7 separate regions of the Homo sapiens genome follow, and regions 1, 2, 3, 5, 6 and 7 are each linked to region 4. Evidence: promoter capture Hi-C in 16 types of primary human blood cells and fetal thymus (Javierre and others, 2016). All regions are on one chromosome and are shown on one strand. Each heading gives the region's core, a stretch centred on a gene start or on the middle of the fragment in contact. The rest is flanking DNA. Distances are from core to core; before and after follow the strand shown. Region 1 has its middle 8.0 kb from the start of TMBIM4. Region 2 has its middle 9.7 kb from the start of HELB. Region 3 overlaps IRAK3 (interleukin 1 receptor associated kinase 3). Region 4 holds the start of RASSF3 (Ras association domain family member 3). Region 5 overlaps IRAK3 (interleukin 1 receptor associated kinase 3). Region 6 overlaps IRAK3 (interleukin 1 receptor associated kinase 3). Region 7 overlaps HELB (DNA helicase B).

The links. The method cuts DNA at HindIII sites, captures the fragments that hold promoters and counts their contacts. A CHiCAGO score of 5 or more calls a contact.
Region 1: a fragment that was not itself captured here is called in contact with the fragment with the promoter of RASSF3 in region 4 in 1 of 17 cell types (monocytes); the score reaches 7.1 in monocytes.
Region 2: a contact is called between a fragment that was not itself captured here and the fragment with the promoter of RASSF3 in region 4, in 4 of 17 cell types (non-activated CD4 T cells, total CD4 T cells, naive CD8 T cells and 1 more). The highest score is 8.5, in non-activated CD4 T cells.
Region 3: a contact is called between a fragment that was not itself captured here and the fragment with the promoter of RASSF3 in region 4, in 1 of 17 cell types (neutrophils). The highest score is 5.7, in neutrophils.
Region 5: a fragment that was not itself captured here is called in contact with the fragment with the promoter of RASSF3 in region 4 in 3 of 17 cell types (total B cells, monocytes and neutrophils); the score reaches 10.5 in total B cells.
Region 6: a contact is called between a fragment that was not itself captured here and the fragment with the promoter of RASSF3 in region 4, in 1 of 17 cell types (neutrophils). The highest score is 5.1, in neutrophils.
Region 7: a contact is called between a fragment that was not itself captured here and the fragment with the promoter of RASSF3 in region 4, in 1 of 17 cell types (non-activated CD4 T cells). The highest score is 8.8, in non-activated CD4 T cells.

The regions. Positions count from the first base shown.
Region 1 is chr12:66,176,363-66,179,534 of GRCh38, reverse strand. No RefSeq gene overlaps it. Among named protein-coding and RNA genes, the nearest start is that of TMBIM4, 8.0 kb to the right of the region's middle. The HindIII fragment of the contact is 3,272 bases long and covers 94-3,172 here.
Region 2 is chr12:66,291,348-66,294,210 of GRCh38, reverse strand. It overlaps the pseudogene RN7SKP166. Among named protein-coding and RNA genes, the nearest start is that of HELB, 9.7 kb to the left of the region's middle. The HindIII fragment of the contact is 9,012 bases long and covers 1-2,863 here.
Region 3 is chr12:66,230,946-66,233,757 of GRCh38, reverse strand. The region is part of intron 8 of IRAK3 (interleukin 1 receptor associated kinase 3); the gene reads right to left. It also overlaps the pseudogene RBMS1P1. Among named protein-coding and RNA genes, the nearest start is that of MIR6502, 19 kb to the left of the region's middle. The HindIII fragment of the contact is 7,657 bases long and covers 1-2,812 here.
Region 4 is chr12:64,609,153-64,611,896 of GRCh38, reverse strand. RASSF3 (Ras association domain family member 3) reads right to left here and starts at 1,402. Exons shown (of 5, transcript NM_178169.4): 1 at 1,154-1,402. The coding sequence starts at 1,264. It overlaps RASSF3-DT (RASSF3 divergent transcript), which reads left to right and starts at 2,431. Exons shown (of 2, transcript NR_187549.1): 1 at 2,431-2,552. RefSeq lists silencers at 873-942, 1,153-1,672, 1,833-1,902 and an enhancer at 2,533-2,592. The HindIII fragment of the contact is 11,544 bases long and covers 1-2,744 here.
Region 5 is chr12:66,195,132-66,197,878 of GRCh38, reverse strand. All of the region lies in intron 1 of IRAK3 (interleukin 1 receptor associated kinase 3), which reads right to left. Among named protein-coding and RNA genes, the nearest start is that of IRAK3, 7.3 kb to the right of the region's middle. The HindIII fragment of the contact is 743 bases long and covers 988-1,730 here.
Region 6 is chr12:66,246,818-66,249,901 of GRCh38, reverse strand. It overlaps IRAK3 (interleukin 1 receptor associated kinase 3), which reads right to left. Exons shown (of 12, transcript NM_007199.3): 12 at 1-2,207. The coding sequence ends at 1,731. Among named protein-coding and RNA genes, the nearest start is that of MIR6502, 2.7 kb to the left of the region's middle. The HindIII fragment of the contact is 1,079 bases long and covers 854-1,932 here.
Region 7 is chr12:66,313,368-66,316,451 of GRCh38, reverse strand. It overlaps HELB (DNA helicase B), which reads right to left. Exons shown (of 13, transcript NM_001370285.1): 5 at 2,289-2,466; 6 at 1,069-1,210. Among named protein-coding and RNA genes, the nearest start is that of HELB, 12 kb to the right of the region's middle. The HindIII fragment of the contact is 1,502 bases long and covers 802-2,303 here.

The sequences.
Region 1 (3,172 bases), core at 480-2,979, 1.6 Mb before region 4:
ATCTTCCCGTCTTTCACAGCAGTTATTGTTCCTCTTGTTCTTCTTGTACAGAATTTATTACATTGTTCTGAAATTTTATGGAAGAGTAAAGCTTGGATGTAATCTGGTGCCTTTATAATGAAGACAATAACAAAGGTCTGTATGTGCAAATATTCAGCATATTTAGGTTTAAAAATCCTAGTAATTTTTCAGATCAAATGTCCTCAAGACTCATTCTGACAATTCCACATTTACCCTCTCATTACATAGCATCGTTCTTGAATTTTTGCCTTTTTTGTCCTCCATGATGATACTCAGTATTTTTTTTTCCTACATACTGACTGTTTCTTCTGTTTTCTTAACTAGCTCTTCTTCTGGCCTGTATAATGTACCCATAGGCTGAATTTGTTGATCTTCTTATTTTGTCTTAGAGGTTTCATATAATCTCATTCTTCATCTATCAATCTCTAAGTCAACTACTTTGATATTTGTGTCATCAGCCCTAACCTGCCCTGCAGATTCTCTTCTCACCTCCTGCATTTATTGAAAAATTTCATTTGGATTTCTTGCTTTCATCTCAAATCATCATGTCCCAAACTGATTGTTTCCTAGAAAATCAACTTCCTTGTTTCTGGTCACATGGGCCAAGGTAACTCTGAGTAATTTTGACTGACTGATTAATACTATCTTCAGAAGGATTTACTGAGCACCTCGTAGTAGGTACCTATATCTAATAAGTCACCAAATCTTGTTCTTCTGTAGTATTTCTGATATGTGTCTGGGTCTTTTCCAATTTGTTTGTTACTTCATGTTTGAGGTTTTGCAGTATCTCTTACCTGGTGAACCCCTACTTATCCTTTATTACTCAATTGAAAAGCCACCATTTCTGTGTTGCAGGTTGAATTGTTTACCCCCAAAATGTACGTTTAAGTCCTAACCCTGAGTACCTCTGAATGTGACCTTAATTGGAAATAGGGATGCTGCAAATGCAATCAAGTTAAGACAAGCTCATATTGGATTAGGGTAGCCCCTAATTCAATGACTAGTGACTTTATAAGAAGAGAGAAATTTGGACTTGGAGACACAGAGGAGGAAAAGGCCATGTAACAACTGAGGAAGAGATGGGAATGATGCAGCCACAGCCAAGGAACTCCAAAGATTGCTGGCAACCACCAGAAGCTGGGAGAGGTGTGGAACGGATTCTTCCTCAGAGCCTTTAGAAGGAATAAACCATACACAGACATCTTGATTTCAAACTCTGGCTTCCAGAACCGTGAGAGAAGAAACTTCTGTTGTTTCAAGTCACTCTTTGTGGTAACTGGTTACAGCAGCCCTAGGTAACTGAAACACTTTATAATCTCCATGAAATCATTTATAATCTCCCCAGAGTTAATCATTTCTTCTAGGTTCCATAACATTCAGTACTACTTTCCATCAGAACTCTTTTTTTGGTATTGTTTTCCTGTGGGCTTGTGGAGCATTGGTGTGTAGCAGAGGAGTCAGTCATCTCTGTGTACCTTGCATGCTGCTTGGCACAGAGTAACTTCCCAATAAATGTCTAATCAATGAAAGAAGTGATGACCTTGCCTTCAGCCAATAATAATTACAACTATCATTTAGTGAGCACTCACCGTTTGCTAGGCACCGTGTTACTACTTTACACGCTATGTTCTGACAACAATTCTCCAACACCAACTGGGTGTCCTGCAATTCATCCCAATTCTAACACTACTGACAGATTCCACAAGTTAAGGACAAGGTCCATAATTTCTAACACTAACTACCCAGAGTTAATGCAGACCCCACAAGTAAAGGTCTCAGTCCCATGAATCAGCCCCCACTTCAGATGCCAGCTACAAGACTCAGGTATCTCTAAGCTATCTGCATCTCTGCCTAGCTAAATACAAATTTGAGAGTCCCCATGATTCCCTCCAAGTTGGATAACTCACCAGAACAATTCACGGGATTCCAGAAAGTGCTATGCTTATTATTACCATTTTATTATAAAGGACACAAATGAACAGCAAGATAAAGAGATAGGGCTGCAAGGTCTGAAAGGGCACCCAGGATGCAGCTTCCATGCCCTTTCCAGATGCTCCACCCTCCCAGAACATCAATGTGTTCTAGTTTATTTGGCTGTAAATGCCCTTGCTCTTTTTAAGTAATCCACGAGCCTTACAAATCTCCACTACTCTGGCCACTAAAGTTGAGCTGTAAATAAAATTTTAAAGATAAAACAATTTTAAAGATAATTGCAACTCACATCTCCAGGACCTTTAATGTTGAATGTAGGTTAATATCCAAAAGCCAAAAACAAAAACGTTTTGTGTTGTCTGGCAATCCAGAAATAAGGACAGAATCATAGTTTGAGAATAGTCCAGAAGATGTTTTAGCTTGGGGTTTGAGAGCAAACACAAATGAAAAGGAGGTGAGAATGATGAAGAGATGGTTAGAGGGAAGAGGAAGCATGCAGATAGGTCTTTAAAAATCAATAAAATTTCCTTTGGATTAGTGATGTTATTTACAAAGCACTTTCCTTGAAATTGCAGCTTTAAAAGAAATAGAGAAGCATTAGATTACTGAGTTATTGGATTTCATGTCTATAAGTAAATGCTTTATTTTCATAAGATAGCTTTCTTATCTAAACTGAGAGGGAGCAAATACTTTTTCACTTTTTTACGACAATTTTTAAAATTTAAGTATAATATACAAATTTAAGTATAAAATATACACAAATCCTAAGTATAAACAGCTTGCCTCATTATCAAGAAGTGAAAGTTATGTAATCAGCCAGGAAACAGAACATTACTGAAATCCTGGAATTCCTTCTAAGTACCTCCTCCTGATGATTATGCCTTCCTCCTCCCCAAAGATAAACAGTTTCCTGATATGTAAGACCATAGATTACTTTTGTTTGCTTTTCAGCTTTACATTATTCTTTATACTATTCTATATATTCTTTGCATTTGATTTCTTTTGCTTAGCATTATGTTTGTAAGCTACATCCATGAACATGTCAATTTGTTCATTTTAATTGTATAAAGTATGTGATTATATGAATATAATTTATTCATTTTTTCCAATAGTGGACAATTTGAGTTGTTTCTAGATTTTAGCTATTAAGAATAATGTGGCTATGTATATTCTTGGTTATGTCTTTTGTAAACTTGTGCATGCATTTCTATTGGACACA
Region 2 (2,863 bases), core at 277-2,776, 1.7 Mb before region 4:
CAGCCTAAGCAACAAAGAGAGACCCCATCACCACACACACACACACACACACACACACACACACACACACAATAATAAGCTGGGCATGGCGGTGCAAACCTATAGTCCCAGCTACTTTGGAGGCTGAGGCAACAGGATCGTTTGGGGACAGAAGTTCAAGGCTTCAGTGAGCTACGATTGTGCCATTGCACTCCAGCCCGGGTGACATAGTGAGACCCTAACCCAAAAAATAAATGAAAGAAAAGAAAAGAAAAGAAAAGAAAAAGGAAAAAGAAAAAGAAAAAGAATTGCTTTCCTAAATACATTTTCTGGAAGCTCCTTTCCTAACAAACATGCCATGGTTGAGGTGAGCACTAAAACAAAAATGCATCAACTCTGCTACCACAGAGAGATGGAGCTGGGGATCAGTTTCTAGCTGATCATGTTGGTCTTTGTTAGGCATTTTATGAAAACTATTTATCTCATCCTATATGATAAGTATAACTTTTTAAAAAGCAAACATTTGCAAAGTATTACTAAGAAGTAGATGACTACAATTCATTTATTCAGTCAATACATATTTTAGGATAGTTACTGTTCTGGGTACTGGAGAATAACAGTAAACAAAACAGACCAAGTCCTTGTACATCCTAAGAAGGAGCAAGGATCCATCCTAAGAAGGAGCAAGGATCCATCCTAAGAAGGAGCCAGGGAGCAAGTAAAAGTAATATCAAATGATGATGAGAACCAGAAGCAAAGATAAAAGAGAGAAAGGGGATAGAGAGTGCTATGGTTTGAATATTTGTCTCTTGCAAAATTCATGTTGAGGGCCAGGCGGCATGGCTCACGCTTGTAATCCCAGCACTTTGAGAGGCTGAGATGGGCAGATCACTTGAGATCAGGAGTTCCAGATCAGCCTGGCCAACATGGTGAAACCCCATCTCTACTAAAAATACAAAAAGTTAGCCAGGCGTGGTGGCACACACCTATAATCCCAGCTATGGAGAGGCTGAAGCTCGAGAATTGCTTGAACCCAGGAGGCGGAAGTTGCAGTGAGGCAAGATAGCGCCACTGCACTCTAGCGTGGGTGACAGAACAACACTCTATCTCAAGAAAAAAAAAATTCATGTTGAAACTTAATCCCCAATGTGGCAGCACTGAGAGGTGAGGAGGGTCATGAGGTATATTCATTTCATATCATTTAAGAGGTGATTGGGTCATGAGGTATCTTCCCTCGTGAATAGATTAATCCACTCATGGATTAATGGGTCAATGGATTAATGGGTTATCATGGGAGTGGGACTGGTGGACCTTGAGAGCTTGTTTGGAGGTTCTAGCAGGGGAGCGCAGTTGCCCGTATACCCTTGACCGAAGACCAGTCCTCTTCTATCAGGGATGGTAATCCTCTTTCACCGAGCACAGCTTTGGGAGGGACACACATGGAGTGGTGAGGGAGGAAGGGGACAACCGCCTAGCTGGCCAGATCAGCCAAGTCAACTCGGGCTATCAATGGGGTGGCAGATGTCACAGACAGATCACCCTCACATCCAGGACTGGTAGCTTTATGAGAAGAAGAGAGACCTGAACTAACATGTTCAGTCCCCTCACCATGTGATGCCGCCTGTTGCTCCACCAGCAAGAAGGCTTTCACCAGATATGTTCTCTCTACCTCAGACTTTCCAGCCTCCATAACTCTAAGTTATAAACAAATTCCTTTTCTTTATAAATTATCCAGTTTTAAGTATTCTGTTACAAGCAGCAAAAAATGAACTAACACAGAGCATGACTGTAGTGAGGTTTTGCTATTTCAGATAGAATGATGGATTGAAACCAAGGTAGAGATATTAAAAATTGACAATGAGATATTGTGTTGTATGGGCTATGGAATGAATTATTGAATAGAAGGAATGCAAATCAGGGAACATGTGAAAAGTGCTATGCTTATGCAATCTATAATCATCAATAGATGAAGACTGACTTTCTGGAATAGAAATATATTTGAGCATTCCACAGAGTCACTCTTGTTGCAAAAGATAAACTACATTCAGATCAGCAGGTCTGTTTTCCTGATTTATTTTAAATGGCTGGAAATTTCCTCCATTTGTGACAAGATTTCATATACAACATCCACTTCTGGCCAAGAAGGGAGAAAATCATCCTGCATTGGAGAAAAGTGAGATATGAAGAACTAGGTTGGAATAATGATGAGCAAAAAGGGAAAGAATGACTGAAAGGGAGACAGGAAGGAGAATGTGGAAAGATAATGTGATGAAGATATGGACAGCAGATGCAGGGGAGTTTCAAAAGAGTTGGAAAATTCTCCTTTAAAAAACAAAGCCATAATGCAGTAATAACTCGTGTTACACAATGCAGAATTCATTAAAGAATGCAAAATCTCTGAGATTTTATTTTTGATGTAAGAAAACATAGGCTGTGAGTGGTGGCTCATGCTGTAATCCCAGCACTTTGGGAGGCCAAGGCGGGTGGATCACCTGAGGTTAGGAGTCTGAGACCAGCCTGGCCAACATGGTGAAACCCATTCTCTACTAAAAATACAAAAAATTAGCCGGGCGTGGTGGCAGGCACCTATAATCCCAGCTGCTCGGGAGGCTGAGGCAGGAGAATTGTTTGAATCTGGGAGGCTGACGTTGCAGTTAGCGGAGATGGTGCCACTGCACTCCAGCCTACGTGACAGAGCAAGACTCTGTTTTTGTTTTTGTTTTTTTTCTGAAAACAAACAAACAAAAAAACCCCAGAATTTGGAGAGTACAAAGACAATGCTTTCACACTCAGAAAACAGAACAATTTTATATATTTAACTTCCTCCCTTAATTATAAACAACAACAATTATAATGGCTAATACTGAGTGTTTACATTGTGCTT
Region 3 (2,812 bases), core at 276-2,775, 1.6 Mb before region 4:
TTTTCTGGGTATGCACAAAGACCGTGAAGACTTATCCAAGTGCATGACCGGATTTTTGTGGTTTTGTTCATTTTGTGTTTAATCTGTGTTTTTTTTTTCCAGCTGTATGAAATGGGCTTTCTGAAGTTTAACTAGTCCGACTTCACCCATGGTGTTCTGTGCTTGCAGTGCGAGTGTTGCTGTAATTCAGTGTTGCCGTCAGTGTCTCTCTTCTTAGCTTTCCGGCCTTTTTTTTTTTCCGAGACGGAGTCTCGCTCTGTCGCCCAGGCTGGAGTGCAGTGGTGCGATCTCGGCTCACTGCAAGCTCCGCCTCCCGGGTTCACGCCATTCTCCTGCCTCAGCCTCCCAAGTAGCTGGGACTACAGGCGCCCGCCACTATGCCCGGCTAATTTCTTGTATTTTTAGTAGAGACGGGGTTTCACCGTGTTAGCCAGGATGGTCTCGATCTGCTGACCTCGTGATCCGCCTGCCTCGTCCTCCCAAAGTGCTGGGATTACAGGCGTGAGCCACCGCGCCCGGCCTGTCTTTCTTTCAATGCAGTGTGAAGTGTCTTATCCTTTTCTATGAATTCCAATTTGCCTTAACTCTTTTGATGCTGTAGCTGTTTCAGTAAAAGTTAGTTCAAACTAATGATGTAGAATGCTTTGACCAGATGAGCTGGTCTATTATGCCTTGTAAAACAGCAGCATAGGGCTTTTAAAAGGTAGTCAATAAAAGTTGCTGAAATTTTGGCTTTTTAAAAATAATAATAATAATAATAATAATAATATCAAAGGGTTAGGATAAAGTCTTTTGTGACTCATCACTCTGAAGCCCAAATACAGAAAAGAAAATAAAGGTAACAGCATCTTCCATTGTTCACTCCTCCAATAAAAACAGAGCCCTGAATTACTCTGGGAAAAGGCCACTGTTTAACACAGATTTTGAGATGTCCTTTTCTCAGCCAATTATCAAAGCCGTACAATAAAACTGCATCCCTCCTAGAAGCTATCTTCCCTTACATAGATTTAGAAAATTAATATGACAAAGGCAAAACAGGCAGGGATTTGGACAGCTCAGTCCTAAAAGCACTGAGCTACACACAGAGGGACCAACACTCAGGGAGGCCTAGGTTTAGAGCACAGTGGAGGATTCATTTAAAAGAGATTCAGGAGGGTAATCTAGGTCAGCCAATCACATCTGGCCGAGGCTGCTGGGGACTGACTGTCATTACCATCTGACAGGTGTTCAGTGGCCCAAATGAACTGAGTTAGTTTCATTCCAGCTTCTAGAGAACAGGTGTGCATATCACCAAACACGAGGGGGAAATCTACTGTTATAGTTGGCACTAATTAACATCTTTGCTGGCAGGCTCAGCAGAAAGGCCAAAAGTTCAATGGCCGTGGAAGGGACTGATTTGCTTTGGAACAGGCAGGGACACATTGATGAGCCCTTGTGAAACCACAGTTCTCAAACAAATGCCCACAGCCATGGATCTCCATACCCTGACACATGCCTGGGTGGGCACATTCTATGGATGGGTTACATTGAAGTCCTTGAACTCTTTGGAACACTCAGAAAGGCAACAATTGTCAGCAGCCCCACCACCAAGTAAAATATAAAATACATTGCTAGATGCATTTCAAGCCTTGTCTCTTCCATAATATTCTTGTTTCTGATCAGATCTCTCTGGGTACTCTGTATCTTTGTTACCTGTTGGGCATTCTGTCTAGCAGTGTTGCTTAAATGATTTTTATAGTTCTGCACATCCAGACAAGTTCCTGGGATAGTGACCTGGAAGAACTGGCCTCCTCTTAAGTTGTGAGACCACCTAAGAGACTCTAGAACCTTTCAGTTTCCACCTATATCCTAGACAAGCTGCAGACTTTCACTAGAGCCCAGCTTGTCAAACCTAGTTCCTCAGCCTAGTCAGAATCCAAAGCTGCATTCCATCCCCTGCTCACCACAGTCCTCATTCTTCTGTAGTCTCACCTTATCTTATTCTCCAACCTTGTCCTTTCTTTTCCAACCAACTGATTTCTCTTGCTTTTACTATATACGTGGCAATTCTTTACTCTGTTCCTTTGAACAAATTATTGCCTCCACCAGGAATATTCTCTCCGCTTCTTTCAACCAATCCACTGCAATGACCCACTTTTTCCAAGACTTGGCTTGGAACTCTCTAACGAGAGGAAGCCTTCTCAGACCAACCACTCAGTGGGCATAGTTACCATTGCACTACACATTTTGTGTTTGTGTTATCTTTCTGATCACCAGGTTGAACCTTCAAGGACAAGACTATTATCATCACTGTCTCTCCCCCTGTGGTCTAACACAATGCTCTGCACACAACAGATGTTCTATAAATATTTGTGAAGTAAGATGAATGGGATTGTCAAGATATTTAATAAACACTTTTTTTTTTTAAAGTAGAGAATGGGGTTTCACCATGTTGGCCAAGCTGGTCTTGAACTCCTGGCTTCACGTAATTGGCCCACTTTGGCCTCCCAAAGTGCTGGGATTATGGATGTGAGCCACCACACCTGGCCAGTAAACATATTAACAGAGAAGTAATTTTTCTTAAACTAGAGCTTAGTCAGTGGGTCCACTTTTCAAACACTATAAATTGACGATAGAGGTAAGAGTGTTAAGTAAAAAGACTGATTGGCCACCACACTACTTGGCCTCTGTCACTGTGCCACTCCCACCACTTCTCAACCAGTCAGGATAGGAATTACCACTGAAGATGTGTGTGCTCTTTGTCAAGGACCTTATGCCATTTAACCCTAGGAGATAGAAGCTATTATTCTACTACTAACATTTTGCAGAGAGG
Region 4 (2,744 bases), core at 153-2,652:
CTTAAGAGCCTGAAAAGACTAGAACTTCCGAATTTTAGAAAGAATTTTACTTCAGAAAGTGGCTAAACTTAAGAGGTCTGGCAAGACCACCCTGACAGATTGCACCCTCCCACATCCACCAAAAGAAGTTATCATCCGGCCCCTGAACGATTCTTCTTGCTTCTAGTCTCTAGGTCTCAGTCCGGTATTAATAGAAATGTTTGGCGAACGCCTGTTTTCTAAAAGCAACAAATTTGTGCCATTACAATCTTCTGTAATCTGATGTGAGCGTGGCCGGGTTGGCCCGGCTCCCCTGGTGCGGCTCCTAGTGCCAGGAGGCCGCGGGCTCTAGCACCGGGCTCCTCAGTCCAGCCGACGTGCCCCGTTTCGGGAAGGCCTCCCAAAAAACACGGCTACAGCTGGCGAAACTGGCACAAGTTCCCTTCCCATCTTTTCCCAACTCGTGCTTCCCACGGCATGCTGCCTCCAAAAAAGGAAGAAACCGGCGAAAAGGTTAGCTGTCGCTGGCTAGTATTTAGCATAGGAGCTTGTTTGCAAAACATCTGGGCACCAAAAAACCTAGCTTTACAGAAAACGCACAACCCTGAGTCCCGCAACGGAGATTTAGTGAGAGCCTATGGTGGCGAGGCCCACGGTGCCCTTGGACCCCCACTCCACCAGGTCGCCCGGGCCAGGAAGAGGGGAGGTCAGGTCACCCGGCCACCCCTAGCTATTACACGTTGACCCAAGCCACTCTGGGGGCCACAGATGAGTAAGCTGACTAACAGGAAGGACAGGCGCGCGAACCCGACCGTCGACCCAGCGGGGACGCGAAGGGGAAACCTGGGGGAGTGGCCCGGGGACGCCTGCTGGCTCCGGGGCTGCTCCCCGCAGGCGGCAGCCCGAGGCGGAGCTGCAGAGGCCATCTGGCGCGGAAGGCAGAAGCCGGCCCTCAGCCTCCCCGCCCTTCCTCCGCCTTCCCTCGCCTACACGCACAAGCTCCAGGCACGTTCCCGGGACCCGAAAAGGCAGAAGCCACTTCTCGGCCCGCTCCTCCTTCCCGGCGAGCATCCCCCGAGCGCCCCGCAGAGACACGTGGAGGCAGGGGGCGCGGGCTGGCGGGTTCCCCGGAACTCTGGGGCGCGGGCTGCAGCGCCCGCCGCGCGCCACTCACTTGTTGGCCGGAGCGGGGCTTGCCCTGGGGCGCTCTCCTGAAGAAGGAGGTCCTGGCGGTGAAGAAGAAGTCCTCGGCGTCCTCCTCCAGGCTGCTGTAGCCGCTGCTCATGCTGCCGGTCCCGTCGCGCGCGGGCGGCCTCCCCGGGGCGCAGGCGGCCAGGGAGGGGGTGCGGCGCCCGCCAGCCCCGCGAGGTTCCCGGCGCGCAGCCCCGGGCAGTCCTTATGCAGCTGCGGCCGCCGCTCAATCAGGCTCTCCCGGCCCCTCCTGCCGCCTCCCCGCCAGGCTCCAGGCGCGGCTCGGCCCCGGTGCGCCCGCGACCCCGCCTCCCTGGGCCCCGCCCCGGACGGGCGACCGGCCGAGCCCCACCCCGCGCGGCCGCGACCCTCCCCGCCCGCCCGCAGGTGGGGGGAGCCCGGCCCGCCCCTTCCAGGCGCGCGGGTTTCTCCCGACAGCGTCGCGGAACCCGGAAAGCCGGGCGCTAGGGCTGCGTCTGCTGGGGCTGTGCTCGGGTCGCTTCCTCAACCTCCCGGAAACTGCAAATTCCTCTGCGAGCCGTCCGCCCGCCCCCAGCCTCGCTGGCTCGAGTTTCGGAGAGGGCGGGAGCAGAGCGGGGAACTTTCTCTGCGTCCACTCCCTGCTCGCCCCCGCACCAGGGTCCTGTAGGGGTGGGTGGGGGTTGCCCGGCCGAGGGACCCCCCAGGTCCCACGGCTTCCTGCAGCCGCAACGCCCAGTCCTGAACCCCAGCAGCTCGCCCCTCCAGGAGGATTTCAAGTTGGCAGAGATGGGTGGGGAGGTCAAAAACTGGGTTGAGTTTATTCGAATGAAAACATCCTTTCTGGTCATTCATTTGAGCTTCGGTCTTACCCTTTTCCCCTTCTTTCTAGCGAGGGCTCACTTCCAAATAAGATCGTTATCTTAGGCGCACTCAGTGCAACTGAAAGGTGAACTAGTTCTATAGTTACAGAACAATCGAGTGCTTATCAATTAAATGTGCTTTGTAAATGTCCCCGCCACAATCAGCCTTCCACGGTCACCCACAAGGCATGGTTTAAGTGGTGGGGATAAGGAGATCAGGGAATTCCATCCATCCACGTACAAAAAAAGTTTCCATGTTTTCTAAAACTCTTCAGTCAGCTAATCCTCTTAAAGCCACCAGTGGGTAACAGTCTTTTACACCTTGGTGTTACTGCACTGATTTAAATAATACTAATTTCAAGATCTTGACTGAAAGGTTTTTTTGAAGCTGCAAGCCCTGCTATAGTTAGCGAGCTTCAGAAGAGGTTTCATTAGGAGGGGAAGAGAGACGTTAGAAAAGAGAAAATGTCCATCCATCATAGCCAAACTAGCCAAACTCTCTTACATTATCTCCTTCAATCCTCCGAGCAACTCTGCAAGGTACGTAGTGCTATTTTATGCCGGTTTTACACCTAGAGCAGCAGCTGAGGCTTAAAGAAAGGAAAGTGGCTGTAGGAGGCAGTACTCGGACCGTTCTGCTTTGCGTTCTGTTGATCTGAACGTGGTCACATACCCTACTGGGTTCTCTGCTTGGTATCGGTCAGCCGTGCTCTTTTGTGGACTACAGGAGGA
Region 5 (2,747 bases), core at 110-2,609, 1.6 Mb before region 4:
CATGACTCTGGGATGTCCCGTCCTGTGACTTGGCTGAGAAACTGCTAATATCAGATGCTTTCCCTTAAGCACATTTCTGAGATTCAGCTGGAATATGAATGAACAGATGCCAAATGAGCTGGGGTTTTAGGGTCTCTAACATTGACCGGGGCATATAGTTCTGAGTTTGCATCACATCTAAGGAAAGCTAGATTAGACAAAGGCATTTTTTCTAATAGCAGAAGTTCATGGTAAAAAACTGATCCAGACTGTTAAAATGAATACTGCCTGCATGCATGGATTGCTTCCGGACTGGAAATGAAATATGTTTTCTCTTTTTCCAACTGGTGATTCACACTGCAACCTTAATAGCTTTTCTCTAATGATGATGCATTCTGAATAGAAACATTGCTAAAGAGTATTTTTAGCATCCATAAAATGTATACTTCATTTAGATCCAATTCTATAAAATAGCTCCAATCTGATACAACAGGAATGCAAACTCTCAACATGTTAATTACATTCTTCAATATTTATCATTTTCTTCAACTCTCCCTTACGTGTCCCCTTTCAGAATATAGGACTTTGTTTACTCGCAGTACATATCAAATAAAAATACAGAGAAAAGTTCTCAATGACTAATTATGTTGATAAAGTTAAAAGCATTCTAAACTGAAAATACAAATTAAGAAAAACATGCTGTTAGTTAAGCATTGTTTAAAACCATTTTTTGGAACACAAATCTTTGTTGAAAGTCGTATTGGAGTCACATAAGCCAAAAAGTCAACCTAAGAAGTTCAGAAATCAGATGCTCAAAAGTCCTTGAAGGCTGTTTTGAGAGTGCAGGACTGACTGTTTTCAGTTGCAGAAATCACGTCTCCATATGCAAATATGTCTCTGAAGGGGTTTTTTCAAATAATGCAACACATCCGTATTTGGAATCTTTGTATTTGCATACAACCACATGCCAAAACCCCTGCAAAATTAAGACTCCATTCTCACAAAGCTTGTTTTTAGACACTGTAAGGGAAAAAGGAAAGATGTCTCTTTCTTTCTACAAAGCATGCAAAAAATTAGACAATTTTTTAAAAGAACTTTTAAGGTTAAAGACATTTTTAATTCCAAAAGAGTAAAACAAAAGTCAAAATTATAAGTTAGATCTATTCTTCATACCAGACTGTTAGCATTAACACTTACTAGTTAATATATTTTATAAGAAATAGTTCTTATTCATACTTAAGCTCATGTGTATGTTTTACCCCATGCCTGAGTAGGACTCATAACTGCGGAGGGCTGTGTGTGACTTCTCAGGTGCCCCTCTGTCTGTCCTGCTCTCTTAATCCTAGACACAGGTAGGAACCTAACATTAACTACCTCTGGGAGATAATTCACCCTCAACACCAAGGTTTCAGTCAGAAGCTATGTAATTTCATTCCCAGGTGAATATCAATACTATTTCCCCACACATTCTTCCCTTGTTAAACTTTTATAGGTCTGTTGCCTACACTAAATTGGAAAATTCTTACAAGCAGGGACTAGGACATTGTATTTACAGTGCTTTATCAAAGATTCTGCCCAACAAGGTTTTTAATAGACAACCCAACAAGGTTTTTAATAGACATTTGTTGATTCATTAATTTATTCAGAATGTACATATTTACTGAGTGCCTGCTCTGTGCCAAGTACAATTTTCGATGCTAAGAGAGTCAGCAGGAAACAAAGGAAGGAAATATCCCTGCTCCCTTGAAGCTTATTTCTAGATGAAGAATAAACAAATAAACATATATATGTTTACATATATATATAGTTTATTTTATATATACATAGAGATACTTACATACATAAAGTATGTGAGAGGTGATAAATGATATAGAGAAAAATAAAGTGGAAAAGAGGCATAAGAGAGTGGTGGGGGGGGGTGTCAATTTTAAAAGAGTGGCCATGGCCAGGTGTGGTGGCTCACACCTGTAATCCCAGCACTTTGGGAGGCCGAGGTGGGTGGATCACCTAAGGCCAGAAGTTCGAGACCAGCCTGGCCCACATAGTTAAACCCCGTCTCTACTAAAAATACAAAAAATTAGCCTGGTTTTGTGGTAGGCGCCTGTAATCCCACTCGGGATGCTGAGGCAGGAGAATCTCTTGAACCCGGGAGGTAGAGGTTGCAGAGAGCCAAGATTGCACCATTGCACTCCAGGCTGTGCAACAAAAGCGAAACTCCGTCTTAAAAAAACAAAACAAAACAAAAGAGTGGTCAGAGTAGGTAATAGTTAAACAAAAACATGAAGGAAGTGAAGAAGCAAGCCTACAGGTTACTGGCAGGAAGAACGTTCCTTGCGTGTTCAAGGAACAAGGAGGCTAATGTGGTTGGAGTCAAGCAAACAAGAGGGAGAAGAAAGTGAGAAAAGCCACACAGGACTTCAGGGTTTGCTCTGACTGGCCTGGGAAGCCGCCAGAGGGTTCTGAATAGGGCAATGATAGCATATGCTTTACAGGCATCACAGGCTTGCCGACTGCTGGGCTGAAAAGACACTCAAGGAGGTCAAGGGCAGTAGCAGGGAGTCTGAGCCCAGTCAGCCAACTGCTAAAATAGTAGAGGTGGGAACCGATGGTGGTTGGTGCCAAGATGGTTACGGTGGCAGTGGTAAGAAATGGTCAGATTATTAGACAGATCCTGAAGGCACAGTCAGCAGCATTATTTACTGAGAGATAGGATGTGGTTTGTGAGAGAAAGTGACAAGTCACAAAAGGCTAATATTTTTGGCCTGAAC
Region 6 (3,084 bases), core at 144-2,643, 1.6 Mb before region 4:
CGAGAAAACGGACTTTGCAGGTGTAATTAAATTAAGGATCTGAGACACAGAGATTTTCCTGGCTTATATGAGTGGGCCCAGTGAAATCACAAAGGTCTTTATAAAAGACATGCAGAAGGGCCAGAATGAGAGGAAGAGGGTAGTGAAGAGATGCGGTGAGACAGACAGAGAGAGGGAGATCTGAAATGTCACGTTGCTGGCTTTGAAGACGGAGGAAGAGGCCATGAGCCAAAGAAGGCAGGTGGCCTCTAGAAGCTGGAAAAGGCAAGGCAGTGAGTTCTCCCCAACAGCCTCCAGAAAGAATGCTAAGGAATTCTGACCTCCAGAACTGCAAAATAATTAATTTATGTTACTTTAAGTCACTAAATTTGTGATAATGTGTTACAAAAACAATAGAAAACTAATATAGGGAGTTTACAACCTAGTAAAAGAGATGAAGGCTGGGCGCGGTGGCTCACGCCTGTAATCCCAGCACTTTGGGAGGCCAGGCAGGCGGATCATGAGGTCAGGAGATCGAGACCATCCTGCCTAACATGGTGAAACCCCGTCTCTACTAAAAATACAAAAAATTAGCCGGGCGTAGTGGCGGGCGCCTGTAGTCCCACCTTTACTCGGGAGGCTGAGGCAGGAGAATGGCGTGAACCCGGGAGGCAGACCTTGCGGTGAGCCGAGATTGTGCCACTGCACTCCAGCCTGGATGACAGAGCGAGACTCCGTCTCAAAAAAAAAAAGAGATAAGACAAGCAGCTTTGATATAATTCAGAAAGTGATAAATATAAAATAGAAATACAAAGAAATTGCTGTGGAAATACTGATAAAGGGAGTACTTCTGGTTGTAGAGATTAGGGAAGCTTCCAGGAGGTGGCTGTTTTGTAGAGCTCTGATGATTGGTAGGATTTCAAAAGAGGGAGATCCAAGAAACAGCAGGAATGAAGGCCCAGAGTTGAAAGGTGTAGATTAAACAAAAAGCTGACCTAGGCCCTTGACCAGCCATTTTCTCAGGAATAAAAATTACTTGATGGACATTTCACATAGTCTCCTTAAGATATAATAGGTCACTAAGTCTGTTTTTAAAAAGCTGTAATAATAGTCAATACAGGATAAACTGTCCTAAGAGTTTAGGATAGATCTTGGGAAGAAATCCCCTTTCAACCCAGAGCATGCCGTAGCTAAGGGTGAACCTGGCTCATTTTCAGACAAGCAGGCTAGTCAGGGATTAACCAAAAAACAAGAGGGGTCAATCAGAATAACAAGGTGATTCTTTCCAAAGGTATCTATTAACATTTACAAATTAGACATTTCCTACAACCCGTGCAAGCAAGCTAAACCAAACGATGGAATCCAACTGAATGTTCTTGGCAGATGGAGGCTCTGAGGACTCACACTGAGGATGATGGAGAGGACATTACAATCCAGTCCCTTTTTGGTAGGTTTTGATTGTTTTGTTTGGCTGAAGTCAGAACCCATGATCTTAAGGAATTTTGAATGGCTCTAATTGAGCGTGGATTTGGTCATGAGACAATTATCCTGATAAAACAATTTTTTAAGGCACTCTGTTTGAGGGTTTGGGAAAAAAGAAATGGAATTATCCAGATTGTTTATCTGCATCACCCAAACTCACTATTGATCATTCTCTTGGCATTGCTTATGGAGCCAATGTCTTCCCAAGGTCATACCTATGCTCAGGTGCCTATGCAATACTTGCTTTTTTCTTTATCTTCTGGTAGAATTTATTCTTTTTTGTACTGTTCATATTCATCCCAGGAAAATTTGGAGGAACAGCTGCTCTCCACTGGCCTGCTCCTGCAAGAATGCCCTGGAGCTTCTGAAGAAGGATCTATATTTACCTTATAGGGCCTTAAGTCCTGGGATGGAACTATATACTTTGGGAACCAACTTTCTTCACAAGAAGAACTGGGCATGTTGCAAGCTTCCTCATTTCTCTTGCTCTCTGGCTTTTTGTCCAAGCTCAGAAACATAACCTCAGACTGGCTGCATTCAAAAGGAGTTTTCTGAGTCATTCTGTCTATCCTCAGGCCTTCATCAGAAGGTAGTAAATTGTTATTCTGGCTTTCATCATCTTCCACTGGAATACTTGGTACATTCTCCAGGAATAGAGGAGAAGGACACCTGAAGGACTTTAGTGATGTGGGAGGATCTTCAGCAAAATACAAGCTGGCTTGAGTACTTTCAAGAGTATTTAAAACCTAATAACAAAGAAGCAAACAGACATTAAATTAAGTTTGAATAATCTTTCCTTTTACCTTTTATCACTCTACCTATAAAGAATATTCTTTCATTTTCATGAAATTAGTTCAGCTATAGAATTTTGAATTAGAAGGGATCTTAAAGATTAGCTAACGCCCTTTATTTTGAGGAGTAAATTAAGTGACTTAAAACCAGGTATAAAAGAAACTACACTAAAGTAAATACCAAGAGACCTGACTTAAGCCTCAGATTTGCCACCAACTAGCTTTGTGAACTTGGGCAAGTCTCTACATTTTTTACTTCAACCATAATATGTGGAAGATTGGAAGGGAATAAGGAAATGGTGGGCCCAACCTGTAATTCTTAAATGCCAGTTTTTTGTTGTTGTTCTTGTTTTGTTTGTTTGTTTGTTTTGTTTTTTTTTGAGATGGAGTCTCACTCTGTTGCCCAGGCTGTGGCGCAGTGGGATAATCTCGGCTAACTGCAACCTACGCCTCCCAGGTTCAGGCAATCCTCCTGCCTTAGCCTCCCAAGTAGCTGGTATTACAGGCACGTGCCACCATGCCCAGCTAATTTTTGTATTTTTAGTAGAGATGGGGTTTCGCCATGTTGGCCAGGCTGGTTTCAAACTCCTGACCTCAGCTGATCCACCCACCTCAGACTCTCAAAGTGCTGGGATTACAGTCGTGAGCCAGGGCCCCTGACTAAATGCCAGAAGTTTTAGGGAGCTCTTTTAAAGTGCATATCCCTTGGTCCCAACATAGAGATTGTCATTCAAAACATAAGGTGTTGAAGGTCCAGGAATCTGTATGTTAGAAGCTTCGGATGATTTGGATGTACAGCTAGATGTGAGAACCCTTGATGTAATTAATACAC
Region 7 (3,084 bases), core at 303-2,802, 1.7 Mb before region 4:
TCCTACTTAGGAGATGTTCAAGCAACAAAACATTTTGTAAAAAAGAGTAAAAACCAGATATACATTTTGGTACAATGACTAACATAGACTCAGTATTCAAAGGTCCCATTATATCTAGAGATTTTAATACAGTCACATCGATTAATGATAGGGATATGTTTTGAGAAAAGCATCATTTGGCAATGTTCATCGTCGTGTGAATAGCATAGAGTGTACTTACACAAACCTGGATGGTATAGCCTACTATACATCTAGGCTATATAGTACAGCCTATTGCTCCTAGGCTACAAACCTGCACAGCATGCTACTGTACCAAGTGCTGTACCCAACTGTAACACAATGGTAAGTATTTGTGTGTATGTAAACATATTTAAACATAGAAAAGGTACAGTAAAATTATAGTTTTATAATCTTATGGCACCACTGTCATAGATGTGCTCTGTTGTTGACCAAACATTATGTGGCGCATGACTGTATTAAAAAAAAGTCATGAAATAATAATGATTGTGATTTTCATATGTGTGGATTATGGAGAAACCAAATGTCTGAGCTGACAGAGGATAACTCCAAAGGCTTATGCAAAGACGAAGGGAAGAGAAGGGTTCTTTTCTATTTAAGGGAAGTAAGATGCCATGGGTGCCTCTAGGATTCATCTAGGAGTGAAATACCACATTCAATTATTTTGCCTTCAGCTTTCTCCCACAAAAATTAGGGGATATTTCTTCCCCAATTCTCCCTTGCACGTAAATGAACTTATTTCCAAATCTCCATTCCCCTTGGGCTTATTCTAGTCCTTAAGCTTAATACAATTTTAATTCATATACATACTTTTAAAATCAGGAAACCTCATCCATTTTTAAATTTCAATAATAACTTATACTGGACCAGTAATGAAAAACATTAACTTTGCTTTTCTAACTGTAGGGCAAAAGGTTTATAGTTGAAGGATGGAAGAGTTTTGCTAAAAGGTGTAGTTAATGTATTGTACTAAATCATTCTAATTCAAAGGCCATTTTTTAAATTTCTAATACAACAGACAGAAAATGCAAACTCTTAGTAATATTATACCTTGTAGCATTGTCCACAATGAGCTGAGATTCTGCTCTATGGTTTGTCTTTAGCTCAATAGCACAATTTCTTGACTTAAGAGTCTCAAAAAGATCTTTCAGCAAGTTACCAGGTTCAATACTGGGTAACTGTCTAATGTCACCTAAAAGAAAAAAAGATACAGTAGCAAGACTTACTCTGAGAAAAAATACCCCCAAGATTGTTTAAAATTATTTAACAGTTTAAAGTTAAATACCTTACAAAAAACAACATTTAAACAGTAAAAGATATAAAAATAGTAATAACACAATAAGGTGACAAAATCTAAATAGAACATCTTTCATACCTATAACCACAGGGAAACTGGGTACAGGCATATGTTTTAGTCAACATATTAGGGGAAAAAAAAAACAGGCCTTAGACATTTGTAGTTAGTCCCTTTTTCAATCATGTTCAATGTCTTACTGAAAGTGGAAGAATCTACAGCCTCAAATAGATAAAATAAGTGTACAAAATATAAAACAAATAAATAAATGCATTTGATAACAGATACGTTCCAGTAATCTAATAGTGATGTTCTGCTCTATTAAAAATATTTTTTGCATGCAACAAATAAGCCCTAAATATAAGAAAAACATGTACTGGGGGAAGCAGAGAGAAGGCTTAAGCCATTAATACAATCAACTGCTTAAAAGACATCCTCAAATACCTAAAAAAATAATAATTTTTATATACAACTTGATTCTCCAATTGTGATTTTATTTTTTTCTCCATTAAATCATATGGTCTACAGAGCATGACTACCCAAGAGAATCTAACTGAATCTTATCAGAATTGGAAGGACTTAAGAGGCTGGTGAGGTCTGATTTATTAGCTTAGCATTATGAAATTACTTTTAAGTGGCCTATAATTCAAACTTTTTATCATTTCCAAATGATTCACATCCTGATTTACTCTGAATCTGTGGCACTTTTACTATTTTAATAGCCATCATTTAGGTGATTAGCAGTAGCCCTTAACAACCCTATTTCATTCACATCCCAGCCAGCTAATATCCTGGCCAAAACAAAACAACCCAAGCTGATTAGGAGAGTGGTCAGATTTAATTTCATGTAGCTTTGGTATCTTCGTGTAGCTTTGGTATCAATTCTGGTGTAAACAACCAACTAAATGGTGTAAACAACCAACTAACCACAATACTTTGAAATAAACATCAGAATTCCAACAATATTTTAACTTACCAAGGATAATAAGCTTAGAAAGTTTGGAGTGCTCACACAATAAATTTAAGACCGATTTGAAGATTCCTACAGATACCAAACTCCCTTCATCCACAACCAGAACTCTAACCGAAGAAAATTTCCATGGTTTGTTTGTGGTCATCATTGTTTGAGTCCATGAATAGAAGCTATAATTGACCTACAAGCAAAGTATGGCATTCCTAAAGTCAGGTTATAAAATCTACAAAACCAAAAATTAATAGCAAGTTATTTTGGGGCAAAACTCGTAAATTGGCAGGGGTGGGTGGGAAGTAAAGAAACACAAAAGTTATAGGGTTGAATATGCAGAACAGACAGACCAAATAAATCTAAAAACAAACAAACAAAAAATCAGATTGTTCCAAAATCTCAACACTTCCCTCATCGTTCTTAAACACAGAAAGCTCCCTATTCTTTTCCATTCCCAAATAAACCTTCTCGTGGCCATCTGAGATATGCCACTGAAGCTCTTCCCTTCTCCCAACCATAGTACTCCATTCTGGAATAAAAGCAGCGCTTTCTCAACCGAATTATGAAAATACTACTTTTTCTTTCAAGTACTCCAAACTTCCTCACCTCAAAACTTTTTAAAAACTACCACCGCACCACCCCCAACAACAAATAAACAACAAAATTCTTTATTACAAATGTAATACTATTTATTATTTTTTAATATAGATGAGAAAAAAATTGGTTGTAAAATTACAACCAGAGAACATTCAATATTTTAGTGTATATCATCCCAAAAATGTTTCTATGTCATCAGTATGAACATTTA